Linked DNA regions of Homo sapiens: region 2 is linked to region 1. Evidence: promoter capture Hi-C in human tissues and cell types (Jung and others, 2019). All regions are on one chromosome and are shown on one strand. Each heading gives the region's core, a stretch centred on a gene start or on the middle of the fragment in contact. The rest is flanking DNA. Distances are from core to core; before and after follow the strand shown. Region 1 holds the start of PALM3 (paralemmin 3). Region 2 overlaps ASF1B (anti-silencing function 1B histone chaperone).

The links. The method cuts DNA at HindIII sites, captures the fragments that hold promoters and counts their contacts. A contact is called where the count stands out against the background at its distance.
Region 2: a contact is called between a fragment that was not itself captured here and the fragment with the promoter of PALM3 in region 1, in 3 of the 25 tissues and cell types used here (liver, lymphoblastoid cells and thymus).

Annotation. Positions count from the first base shown.
Region 1 is chr19:14,059,187-14,065,535 of GRCh38, reverse strand. It overlaps PALM3 (paralemmin 3), which reads left to right and starts at 3,460. Exons shown (of 7, transcript NM_001145028.2): 1 at 3,460-3,596. The coding sequence starts at 3,556. RefSeq lists an enhancer at 2,965-3,519. The HindIII fragment of the contact is 26,422 bases long and covers 1-6,349 here.
Region 2 is chr19:14,126,805-14,133,153 of GRCh38, reverse strand. All of the region lies in intron 1 of ASF1B (anti-silencing function 1B histone chaperone), which reads left to right. Among named protein-coding and RNA genes, the nearest start is that of ASF1B, 6.6 kb to the left of the region's middle. RefSeq lists an enhancer at 4,480-4,589. The HindIII fragment of the contact is 8,412 bases long and covers 1-6,349 here.

The DNA of each region.
Region 1 (6,349 bases), core at 2,211-4,710:
TCTTTTTATTATTTTTTTTTTTTGAGAAGGAGTCTTGCTCTGTTGCCCAGGCTGGAGTGCAGTAGCACCATCTCGGCTCACTGCAACCTCTGCCTCTCAGGTTCAAGCAATTCTCCTGTCTCAGCCTCCTGAGTAGCTGGGATTACAGGTGCATGGCCGGCTAATTTTTTGTATTTTTAGTAGAGTCGGGGGTTTCGCCATGTTGGCTAGGCTGGTCTCGAACTCCTGACCTAAGGTGATTTGCCTGCTCGGGCTTCCAAAGTGCTGGGTTTACAGGCATGAGCCACCAGACCCGGCACCAATTGCTTTTATATTTCTTTCTATTTGTGTATTATCTGTCTCTCTCCCCATACGAGAAAGTGAGCTGCATAATAGCATTTTCTGTTTGTCTAGTTCATCTCTATACCCAATGCCCCCATGCCTAGAATAATGCCTTATTATTATTATTATTTGAGATAGGGTCTTGCTCTGTCACCTAGGCTGGAGTGCAGTGGCGTGATTACAACTCACTGCAGCCTCAACCTCCTGGGCTTAAGCAATCCTCCTGCCTCCGCCTCCCGAGTAGTTGGAATTACAGGCATGAGCCACCATGCCTGGCTCCAACATCTAAATATTTAACAGTTATAAAATCAATCTACAAACAATTAAATAGGCTGGATGTGGTGGCTCACATCTGTAATCCCAGCACTTTGGGGGGTGGATCACTTGAGGTCAGGAGTTCAAGACCAGCTTGGCCAATATGGTGAAACCCGCCTCTACTAAAAACACAAAAAATAGCCAGGCATGGTGGCGCATGCCTGTAATCCCAGCTACTCAGGAGTCTGAGGCAGGAGAATCACTTGAACCTGGGGGGCAGAGGTTGCAGTGAGCCAAGATCGCACCACTGCACTCCAGTCCAGCCTGGGTGACACAGTGAGACTGTCTCAAATAAATAAATAAATAATAAATAGAATATTTTATTTCCTCCAAAAGGTGGAAATAACTCAAATGTCTATCAATGGATAAATGGATCAGCAAAATATAGTATACTCATATGATGAAATATTATTCAGCCATAAAAAAGGAATTAAGGGGGCTGGGCACGGTGGCTCATGCCTGTAATCCCAGCACTTTGGGAGGCCGAGGCGGGTGGATCACGAGGTCAGGAGATTGAGACCATCCTGGCTAACACAGTGAAACCCCGTCTCTACTAAAAATACAAAAATTAGCCAGGTGTGTTGGCGGGCGCCTGTAGTCCCAGCTACTTGGGAGGCTGAGGCAGGAGAATGGTGTGAACCCGGGAGGCGGAGCTTGCAGTGAGCCTAGATTGCACCACTGCACTCCAGCCTGGGCAACAGAGCGAGACTCCGTCTCAAAAAAAAAAAAAAAAGAATTAAGGAACGATAAATACACGCTACATGGATGAAATTTTAAAACGTGATGCTGAGTGAAAGAAGCCAAACACAAAAGACCACATAGTGTGTGAGTCTTTTGTTTGTTTGTTTGTTGAGACCGAGTTTCGCTCTTGTTGCCCAGGCTGGAGTGCAATGGCGTGATCTCGGCTCATCGCAACCTCCGCCTCCCGGGTTCAAGTGATTCTCCTGCCTCAGCCTCCCAAGTAGCTGAGATTACAGGTATGCACCACCATGCCTGGCTAATTTTGTATTTTTAGTAGAGATAGGGTTTCTCCATGTTGGTCAGGCTGGTCTTGAACTCCTGACCTCAGGTAATCCGCCCACCTCAGCCTCCCAAAATGCTGGGATTACAGGCATGAGCCACTGCGCCCGGCCTGTGAGTCCATTTTTATAGAACTATCCAGAATAGTCCGGGCACAGTGGCTGACGCCTGTAATCCCAGCAGTTTGGGAGGCCAAGGAGGATGGATCACCTGAGGTCAGAAGTTCAAGACCAGCCTGGCCAACATGGTGAAACCCTGTCTCTACAAGAATACAAAAATTAGCTGGGCGTGATGGCGGGTGCCTGTAATCCCAGCTACTTGGGAGGCTGAGGCAGGAAAATTGCTTGAACCCAGCAGGTGGAGGTTGCAGTGAGCCAAGATTGTGCCCATCGCACTCTAGCCTGGGCGATAGAGTGAGGCTCCATCTAAAAAAACAAACAAACAAAAAAGAAAAACAAAAAGTCCAGAATAGGCAAATCCATAGAGATGGACACAGATTGGTGGTTGCCAGGCACGGGAGGCAGGGGAATGAGTAGTGATCACTTCCTTTTGGGTTGATGAAAATATTCTGAACCAGTGGTGAGGATTGCATAATATTGTGAACATACTAAATGCCACTAATGGTAAATTTTGTTATGTGTATTTTACCACGATCAAAAAGTAATTTTTTTTTTTCAGACGGAGTCTTGCTCCGTCACCCAGGCTGGAGTGCAGTGGCATGATCTCAGCTCCCTGCAATCTCCGCCTCCTGGGTACAAGCAATTCTCCTGCCTCAACCTCCCGAGTAGCTAGGACTACAGGTGTGCCACCACACCTGGCTAATGTGTATCTTTAGCAGAGGCAGGCTTTCTCCATGTTGGCCAGGCTGGTCTCAAACTCCTGACCTCGTGATCCGCCCACCTCGGCCTCCCAAAGTGCTGGGATTACAGGCGTGAGCCACCGTGCCTGGCTCAAAAAGTAATTTTTTTTTTTTTAGACAGAGTTTTGCTCTTGTTGCCCAGGCTGGAGTGCAATGGTGCGATCTTGGCTAACTGCAACCTCTGCCACCTGGGTTCAAGTGATTCTTCTGCCTCAGCCTCCCAAGTAGCGGAGGTTACAGGCATGCACCACCATGCCCGGCTAAGTTTTTTTTTGTATTTAGCAGAGACGGGGTTTCACCATGTTGGTCAGACCAGTCTCGAACTCCGCCCTCAGGTGATCCACCCACCTGGGCCTCCCAAAGTGCTAGGATTACACATATGCACCACTGTGCCTGTTCTTAAAAAATAATTTTAAAAAATGTTATCTGCCAGATGTGGTGGCTCATGCCTGTAATCCCAGCACTTTGAGAAGCCGAGGAGGGAGGATTGTTTGCGCCCCGGAGTCTGAAACTGCAGTGAGCTATGATCGCACTACTACATTTTAGCCTGGGCAACAGAGTGAGACCCCCATCTCTAAAAAAATAAAACAGTCTCCAGCCTGTGTGCTATGCAATGGTGCTCTCCTGTGGGTGAGTCTTGGCAGGCAGTCAGACTCAAGATGATTGGGGTGCCAAGTAGAAATGCCATTCTCTGGTGGCAGGGGGAGTCACCGACTCAGTACTCTCACCCCCACGCTTGACCACGCGTGTGTGAAAGTGTTTTCCGGGAGGCAGCTGAGTGCAACAAAGAGGCCAGAGGCTGGTGAATAATTTATCAGGACAGCTGATAGTACCTCCCCAGAACTGCCCTCCAGCCCCCAGCCCCCCTCTCTGGTGTGCCTACCGCCTCCCTGGCCCAAACCCGCTGGACCTGCTCTCCCGGTGCCCGCCCGCAGCCCCCCCCCACTCCAGGCAGCCAAGTCACAGCCTCCGGGGCACCTTCAGGCAAGCGGGTGGTGGGTCCAGAACTCGGAGACCAGAAAGTGAACTTCTGGGCAGAGATGGCCCTGCAGAGCCAGGTGTGGTCTCTGGCCACACCCATGTAAGTGTCTGGGGGGTCAGGGGGGCTGGTGGGCAGGGCCTTGGGAGGGGCTCATGGGGGATGCTGGCCTTGTCTGGGAGCCGAGAGCTCCAGTGGTCTCTCCTAAGGGGACCCGGGGAGTGGAGGGGTTGGCTAGCCAACCCCATAGGCTCATCAGTGTCACCCTTCCTTAAAGAGTCAAGGGGTGGGAGAGAGATATAGGCTCCCCCTGCCCCTTCCTCTTCGGGGATTTTCCGCTGCCAGGGCTGAGAACCCAAAGTCCAGCCAGGGGGTGGGGCTACTGCTGTGGTGCAGGGAGTGGGGAAGGTCAGGGTCACTGGGTTCCACGTTTTGCCCCTAAAGTCAGTGTCCAAGGTGGGAGAAAAGGCTTGAGATCCAACAGAAGTTAAAAGCTCCCAGCCTGAGAAAGACAATGGCAACATTGCAAGGATGACCTCCTTCATGAAATGGCCACCAACTCTTGCGGGTGGCCAGAAGCCCAGGCCGCCTACGTTGTTCTTCCAGAGTTAGTTAGAGATAAGCAAGATGGAATGGGGTGTGTGAAGTCTTTTCATAGCTGAGGGGTGAGAGTTTTTTAAGGTTAAAAGGGTAGAGGGGGCTTCAGAGGTTTGGAAAGAGTTTTGGAAAAGGGGCTTCCCCCCACACTAGGGACCCCAATTCGGTTCCTCACCCTTCTAGGTCCTCCATTGCATTATTCACCAACTACAAACCTGGTTGCTTAGCAATGGGAACCCGATCCCCCCCAGCAAGGAAGAGGCAGGGAGATTACATCTTGGGGGTGGTACAGGAGACCACGGGACTTCAGCCCTCCCCCAGGGGCAAACCTATAAGCACAGAATCTGGGCTTCCTTTGGGATATCTTGCAAAGCATGACTTCGTGGCCGGGCACGGTGGCTCACGCCTGTAATCCCAGCACTTTGGGAGGCCGAGGCGGGCAGATCACCTGAGGTCAGGAGTTCGAGACCAGCCTGGCCAGTATGGTGAAACCCCATCTGTACTAAAAATACAAAAATTAGCCGGGCTTGGTGGTGCACGCCTGTAATCTCAGCTACTCAGGAGGCTGAGGCAGGAGAATCACTTGAACCCAGGAAGCGGGGGTTGCAGTGAGCTGAGATTGAGCCATTGCACTCCAGCCTGGGTGACAGAGCGAGACTCCGACTCAAAAAAAGAAAGAGCATGACTTCAATTCCTTGCCCCAAACAGCATTCAGGGTCTCCAGGCTGCTCTCTTAGCTACCTTGATGGGGATTCCTAGACCTGCACCCCCACCCCCCTCGCCAGCTGTGTTCTCAGTATTTTGGATCTGATAGCTTCAAGTTCTGATCTTGGCTCCATGACCTTGGACACTGCTGCCACTTCTCAGAACCTCAGTTTTCCCATCCATAAAATGGACACATTCATATAGCTTACCTCCTAGAGTCGTTGGGAGGATTCAGTGAATTACATTGCACCTGGCACGTGTTACGGGCTAGCTAATGGTTGGCTGATTTTGTTCTTAGCTGGAATGTCAACTCAGCAAAGAGTTGACTCCACTGTGTCATGATAGAGGCAGGGAGGGGGAGGCAGAGGTGGCTGTGGGAACCTAGCGGAAACCCCGTGGGGCACTTAGAACACTATATGCTATATATAGTATATATATATCATATATATAGCACTATAAGTGCTAATAGCCTTCACGTTGTGGCCACAGAAGATCTGGAAGGTCCTAGCTGGAGTTCAGGCAATGAGGCTTACCCAGTAGGGTGACTGTTCAAATTAATAAATGTTTGAGGGTTTGATCAGCGCCCGTCCATGCCGGTGGAGATGACAGGCAGAGAGACATCGCTTTCTAGATACTGGCCTGTGACACGTGGTCAACATAGCAACATAGTCAGGGGTGCCCAATGCATGTCTGTGTTGATAAGGTTGGTGTGACACTGACTGTCCCTAATCATCCTGCAGTATGACAGTCACCCTCCAGCTTCCACGGGAGCCTAAGTGGGTCCAGAGGCCACTCTGGAGGCTGAGAAGTAGAGATGTTTTGAGGAAGACAATGACAGGGGAATCTCGAGTTAAACCTTAAATGGCAAGTCCCCCTCCTCCCAGCTCAGAGTCCAGTCCTAGGCAGAGTGACCCAGTGATCCTTGTCCCCAGGGAGGGGGGTTAGCAGGTGGAGGAGGCAGCTCTGGGGTTACCATGGCAACAGTGGGAGGGCCACAGACTCGCTTGCCCCCCCAGCGCTTGAGAAATTCTGGGTAGGAGCTGAGGTCCAGAGAGGGTGTGGGACTGGGAAGAGAAAGAGGCACACAGCCTGTTAGGGGCCTGGTGGCATTTGAGAGTTTCTGCAGGTTGGACTGGAGATGGTTATTATAATTAATCATACATATTATTCATCATGGAATTATATAAATTATGATTATTCATAAACAATGGGACTATTTTTGTAGCACTGTACCCTAAGCTTTTCCCTGCATGAATAGCTCCTTGCAAGCGTCCTCTGAGATCGGGGGTGGCAAGGACAGGGTGGTCAAGCTATTCCTGCCCATCTTACAGATGAGGAAACTGAGGCTGAGAGAGACAAAGCCAGATTTAGGGAGGGCTTTAGCCTCACCAGTCGTGGTCACTGCTCAGTTCCCCTCCCAAGACCCTCGCCCCCCGCCCAGACTCTTCCCAGGTGCAAAGGGGAAACAGAGGCAAAGTGCTGGGCTCGGGGCAATTTCCATACTGCTCAGGGATCTTGGCCAAGAGGGGGGCGTTCAAGATGGGAGCCCCTCG
Region 2 (6,349 bases), core at 1,375-3,874, 68 kb before region 1:
ATTTATTTATTTATTTATTTATTTATTTATTTTTGAGATGGAGTCTCGCTGTGTCACCCAGGCTGGAGTGCAGTGGCGTGATCATGGCTCATTGCAAGCTCCGCCTCCCGGGTTCACGCCATTCTCCTGCCTCAATCTCCCAAGTAGCTGGGACTACAGGCGCCCGAAACCATGCCCAGCTAACTTTTTGGATTTTTAGTAGAGACGGGGTTTCACTGTGTTACCCAGGATGGTCTCGATTTCCTGACCTTGTGATCCGCCCGCCTCGGCCTGGGATTACAGGCGTGAGCCACCGTGCCCGTCGTATGATTATGATGATGATGATGATTATTATTAGAAATGGAATCTCACTATGTCACCCAGGCTACAGTGCAGTGGTGCAATCTCAGCTCACTGCAATCTCCACCTCTCGAGTTCAAGCGATTCTCCGGCCTCAGTATCCCAAGTAGTTGGGATTACAAGCTTGAGCCACCATGCCCGGCTAATTTTTGTGTCTTTAGTAGAGACGAGGTTTCACCATGTTGGCCAGGCTGGTCTCAAACCTGATCGCAAGTGATATGCCCACTTCAGCCTCCCAAAGTGCTGGGATTACACTTTGAATCCTAAGCGCCTGGCCAGAGAATGCTATTGTTAATTGTACCTGGATGATAAAGCTTTTCCTTTGAGTAACTCAAGTGAGAAATCCTGGCTCTTCCAGTCCTAGGGCTCTCTGTGACTGATCTGCCAGCTTGCTTTCTGCCTCCTTCTGGACTCCTCTCCATGAAAAAGGGAGAATCTGCCTCACTCTCAGCAGCGTCAACTGAAAATCTGACAAAACCCCCAACCCAGCTGTGTGAGGTGGCTCATGCCTGTAATTCCAGCACTTTGGGAGGCTAAGGAAGGAGGATCTCTTGAGCCCAGGAATTTGGGCCAGCCTGGGTAACATAGCAAAACCTTGTCTCTACAGAAACATCAAAAAATTAACGGGACTTGGTGGCACGTGTCTGTGGTCCCAGCTACTCAGGAGGCTGAAGTGGGAGGATTGCATGAGCCCAGGAGGTCAGGGCTGCAGTGAGCCATGATTGCACCACTGCACTCCAACCTGGGTGAGAGAGCAAGACCCCCATCTCAAAAAAAAAAAAAAAAAAAACCACCCTAACCCCTAAGCCCCAGTTGGGTGACCCCTATTTCTCAGGGGCCCCAAGCCCCCTTTGCACTTTTATCTTCCACATCTGGAAATAGATTCTTCCACATTTAGCTGAGAAATTCAACAGACACTGGTTGAATAAGTCATAGAAGCCAGATGTTCTGACCCAGAAATAACGAAGTTGTTATGGCAGCAGAGCTCATCTTTGATTATGAACAAAGGCAAAAAGCAAACAAACAAAGGAGGCCTGGCATGGTGGCTCACGCCTGTAATCCCAGCACTTTGGGAGACCAAGGCGGGCAGATTACCTGAGGTCAGAAGTTCGAGACCAGCCTGGCCAACATGGTGAAACCCCGTCTCTACTAAAAATACAAAAAATTAGCCGGGTGTGGTGGCGGGCGCCTGTAGTCCCAGCTACTCGGGAGGCTGAGGCAGGAGAATGGCGTGAACCCAGGAGGCAGAGCTTGCAGCGAGCCGAGATTGCACCACTGCACCCCAACCTGGGCAACAAAGCAAGACTCCATCTCAAAAAAAAAAAAAAAGAAAAAGCCAGGTGTGGTGGCTCACACCTGTAATCCCAGCACTTTGGGAGGCCGAGGCGGATGGATCACAAGGTCAGGAGTTCGAGACCAGCCTAACCGACGTGGTGAAACCCCGGCTCTACTAAATACAAAAATTAGCCAGGCATGGTGGCACGCAGCTATAATCCCAGCTACTCAGGAGGCTGAGGCAGAAGAATCGCTAGAACCCGGGAGGCAGAGGTTGCAGTGAGCTGAGATTGTGCCACTGCACTCCAACCTGGGTGACAGAGCGAGACTCTGTTTCAAAAAAAAAAAAAGAAAAAAAAAATGGCCAGGCACAGTGGCTTACCCCTGTAATCCCAGCATTTTGGGAGACCAAGGCAGGTGGATCATCTGAGGTCAGGAGTTTGAGACCAGCCTGGCCAATGTGGTGAAACCCTGTCTCTACTAAAAATACAAAAGTTAGCCAGGCTTGGTGGCAGGTGCCTGTAGTCCCAGCTATTTGGGAGGCTGAGGCAGGAGAAGCGCTTGAACCCGGGAGATGGAAATTGCAGTGAGCCCAGATTGCGCCATTGCACTCCAGCCTGGGCGACAGAGCAAGACTGTCTCAAAAAAACAACAACAAAAAAGCAGGAAGCAGACTTTTTAGCTAGTTCAGCTATACTAATTGTGTACATGTCTTTAGTCTTATCATTTATATATATATATATATATATATACACACAAACACACAGTGGAGGTATGTCTTGCACAGGGACTAGCTTGTGAAGTTAGCGCAGAGAGATAACATGGGACACAGTTGAGTTGCCTTGACATTGCTCAGAAGGTTAGGTACACACGTCATGTGTACAGCTGTGTCCTGTACTCATAGCTATGAGTTCCTGCTGTATTGGTGATTTGTGTCCCATGTATAATTCTAAAGAAAGATTATATTTAGAGATGAAATCATACACGTATGTCTCTACTTATAACACTGCAGCCAGATTTTTTTTTTTTTTTTTAAAGAGATAGGGTGTCACTATGTTGCCCAGACTGGACTTGAACTCCTGGGCTTAAGCAGTCCTCCCACCTCAGCTTCCTAAGTAGCTGGAACCACAGGTGCACATCACCATGCCTGGGCACTTCAGCAAATTTAAGATGATTCTCGACTGGGCATAGTGGCTCATGCCTGTAATCCCAGCACTTTGGGAGGCCAAGGCAGGCGGATCACAAGGTCAGGAGATCGAGACCATCTTGGCTAACACAGTGAAACCCCGTCTCTACTAAAAATAGAAAAAAAAATTAGCCGGGCGTGGTGGGGGGTGCCTGTAGTCCCAGCTGATTAGGAGGCTGAGGCACAAGAATGGCATGAACCCGGGAGGCGGAGCTTGCAGTGAGCCGAGATCGTGCCACTGCACTCTAGTCTGGGCAACAGAGTGAGACTCCATGTCAAAATAAAATAAAATAAATTAGAATTACAGGTGCACACCACCACGCCCAGCTAATTTTTTATATTTTTAGTAGAGATGGAGTCTCACTCTGTCACCCAGGCTGGAGTGCAGAGGCACGATCTCAGTTCACTGCAACCTCAGCCTCCCGAGTAGCTGAGACTACAGGGGCATGCCACCACGCCTGGCTAATTTTTTGTATTTTTTGTATCACCATGTTGCCCAGGCTGATCTCGAACTTCTGAGCTCAAGCAATCCACCCGCCTCAGCCTCCCAAAGTGCTAGGATTACAGCCATGATCCAATGATCCACCTCACCTGGCCCTATACCTATAACTCTTTTTTTCTTCCTTTCTTTCCTTCTTTCTTCTTTTTTTTTTTTTTTTTTTTTTTTTTTTTTTTGACGGAGGCTGGCTCTGTTGCCCAGGCTGGAGTGCAGTGGCAAAATCTCGGCTCACTGCAATCTCTGCTGCCTCCCAGGTTCAAGCAGTTCTTATGCCTCAGACTCCTGAGTAGCTGGAATTACAGGTGCACACCATCATGCCCAGCTAAATTTTTATATTTTTAGTAGAGATGGGGTTTCACCATGTTGCCCAGGTTGGTCTCGAACTCGTGAGCTCAGGCAATCTGCCTGCCTCGGCCTCCCAAAGTGCTAGGATTACAGGTGTGAGCTGCCGTGCCCAACCAGCTTCTGTAACTCTTGAGTCAGTATTTCTCTACAGCCGTTAGTTAATTCTCCAGTTTCTTTCCAGCCCTGGTTGAAAGAGCCATTTCAGCCCCTGTGCCTGACAGTCAACACAGTACATTTTTTCTTTTTCTTTTTTTTCCTTTGAGATAGGGTCTCTGTCGTCCAGGCTGGAATGCAGTGGCTCGATCATGGCTCACTGCAGCCCTGAACTCCTAGGCTCAAGCGATCCTCCAACCTTAGCCTCCCGCATAGCTGGGACCACCGGCACGCGCCACCACACCCAATTAATTTTGTTGATTTTTAATAGAGTCGAGTCTGCCTATGTTGCAGGGGCCCATTTATTTCGGTGAGTTTCCACATGCTCTTTGTTTAGGTTTTGCCGATTAGTATTGACCTCAGCTGGACAACATCAGGTGCTCGTGGGTACACTTTAGTCTTTTTTGTCTACCTTCCCAGGACATGAATTAAATGCACCCGTACAGGATTCTACCGGCTATGAGAGGAAAGGGCTCAAGGATATACACCAAAATGATACAACTGCTTTAGAAAGGAGAGAGCAGGGCTGGCTGGCTTTTCTGTCTTCCCCCAAAACTTGATTCCAGTTGTGTCACTACTTGTAACAAAAATAAATCAACAGGCTGGACATGATGGCTCAGACAAATTCCAGCACTTTGGGAGGCCAAGGCGGGAGGATTGCTTGAGACCAGGCTGGGCAACCAAGCAAGACCTCATCTCTAAAAACAATTTAAAAATTCCCTGGGCGTGTGGCACAAGCCTGTGGTCCCAGCTACTTGGGAGGCTAAGGCAAGAGAATCACTTGAGCGCAGGAATTTGTGGCTGTAGTGAGCTATGATTATGCCACTGCACTGCAGCCTGGGTGACGGACCGAGACCCCATCTCCAGTGAAAAAAGTCAACTTCCTCCCTGCAAATAGTAAGAGGCTAGTTCGACCAAACACCTGTGAGTTCAATGGTCACCCGTATCCTACAGACCTGCTATAGGGTTCCTGAGTGAAACCACAAAGGGACAGGCAGCCAGTGCATCAAAGAAGGGCATGGGGCTCAGGTGACAAGCCTCTGTAGTCATGACCTGGCAGCAGCATGCTTCCAAAGTTGGATGCTCTTGTGGGACACTGGACCAAGGAACAGGGCAGCTTCTGAGAGAGTTTGCTTCCTGTGAAAATCACAGCTTGTGAAACTTCCCCCAGCTGCTAGAGCTGAAGGGTTGTGTAATTTCTAAAGAGCCAAAAATAAGTTTCAAGCCTCTTGCCAAGCCTCCCTGTACCAGCATGACCTTGCCCCTGATACACTTGGACCTCCTGCAAGAGGCCATGTTGACCGGAATTTCCTGTGATTGACAGCCAGAGGTTCCATAAGCACTTTCCTTTCATCTCAATGGAGCATATTCAGGGGAGGGGGCCCTCCTGCTGGATGGGGTGCAAGAGTTAGGGTTTGAGGCTGGGCACGGTGGCTCACACCTGTAATCCCAGCACTTTGGGAGGCGGAGGCGGATGGATGACCTGAGGTCAGGAGTTCGAGACCAACCTGGCCAACATGGTGAAACCCCATCTCTACTAAAAATACAAAACATTAGCCGGCTGTGGTGGCGGGCGCCTATAATCCCAGCTACTCAGGAGGCTGAGGCAGGAGAATCACTTGAACCCGGGAGGCAGAGGTTGCAGTGAGCCGAGATCTCACCATTGCACTCTAGCCTGGACAACAAGAGTGAAACTGTCAAAAAAAAAAAGTGTTTGGAGGATCACCCCGGGATGCCACATTTGTTGACTGAGTTGCCCAAATGTCTCTAAGTAGGCATGACTTGGTGCCAGATCTGGAAGACCAGGGTGGCTGGCTCCCTGAGCAACCTCACCTTCCCCCTCCTGCAGGCTGGCTCTCCTGCCGGATTGGAATCTGCCACCCTGCCCCAGTTGTCGAGGGATCCACTTCGTTGAGTGGCACCGGTCCCTGTGTGTGAAAGAGGATGCTGCTTCCTATCCCAGCACCCAGTGGGCAGGGCCCTGAAATGACCCAACTCCCTGCCGTTCCCTTCTCAGCACGTCTGTGTCACGTGGCTCTTAATTCAGCCTCTGCCATACAGTTCACGCTCAGGCCTTGAGAGGCCCAGGTTTCCCCAGAGGTATAGTCAAGGTCACCTGTCATAGCTAGGCTTACAAGACAGAATTCCCTAATGGAGGTAGAGCTTTGTGCCCACCTCAGCATTCAAGACTGCAGTGCCTGGCACTAAGTGTCTGACAGATGGAATAATAGTCTTTTAACATATTAAGGATCTGTCTAAAATTACCACAAGGCTGGGCACAGCAGCCCACACCTGTGATCCCAACATGGTGGGAGTCCGAGGCAGGAGGATCGCTTGAGCCCAGGAGGTTGAGGCTACAGTGAGCCATGAACATCCCGCTGCACACCAGCCTAGGCAACAGAGGGAGACTGTCTCAAAAAATAAGTAAATAAAAATAAAATAGAAGATGTGGCCGGGCGCAGTGGCTCACACCTGTAATCCCACCAGTTTGGAAGGCTGAGGCGGGCAGATCACTTGAAGTCAGGAGTTGGATACCAGCTTGGCCAACATGG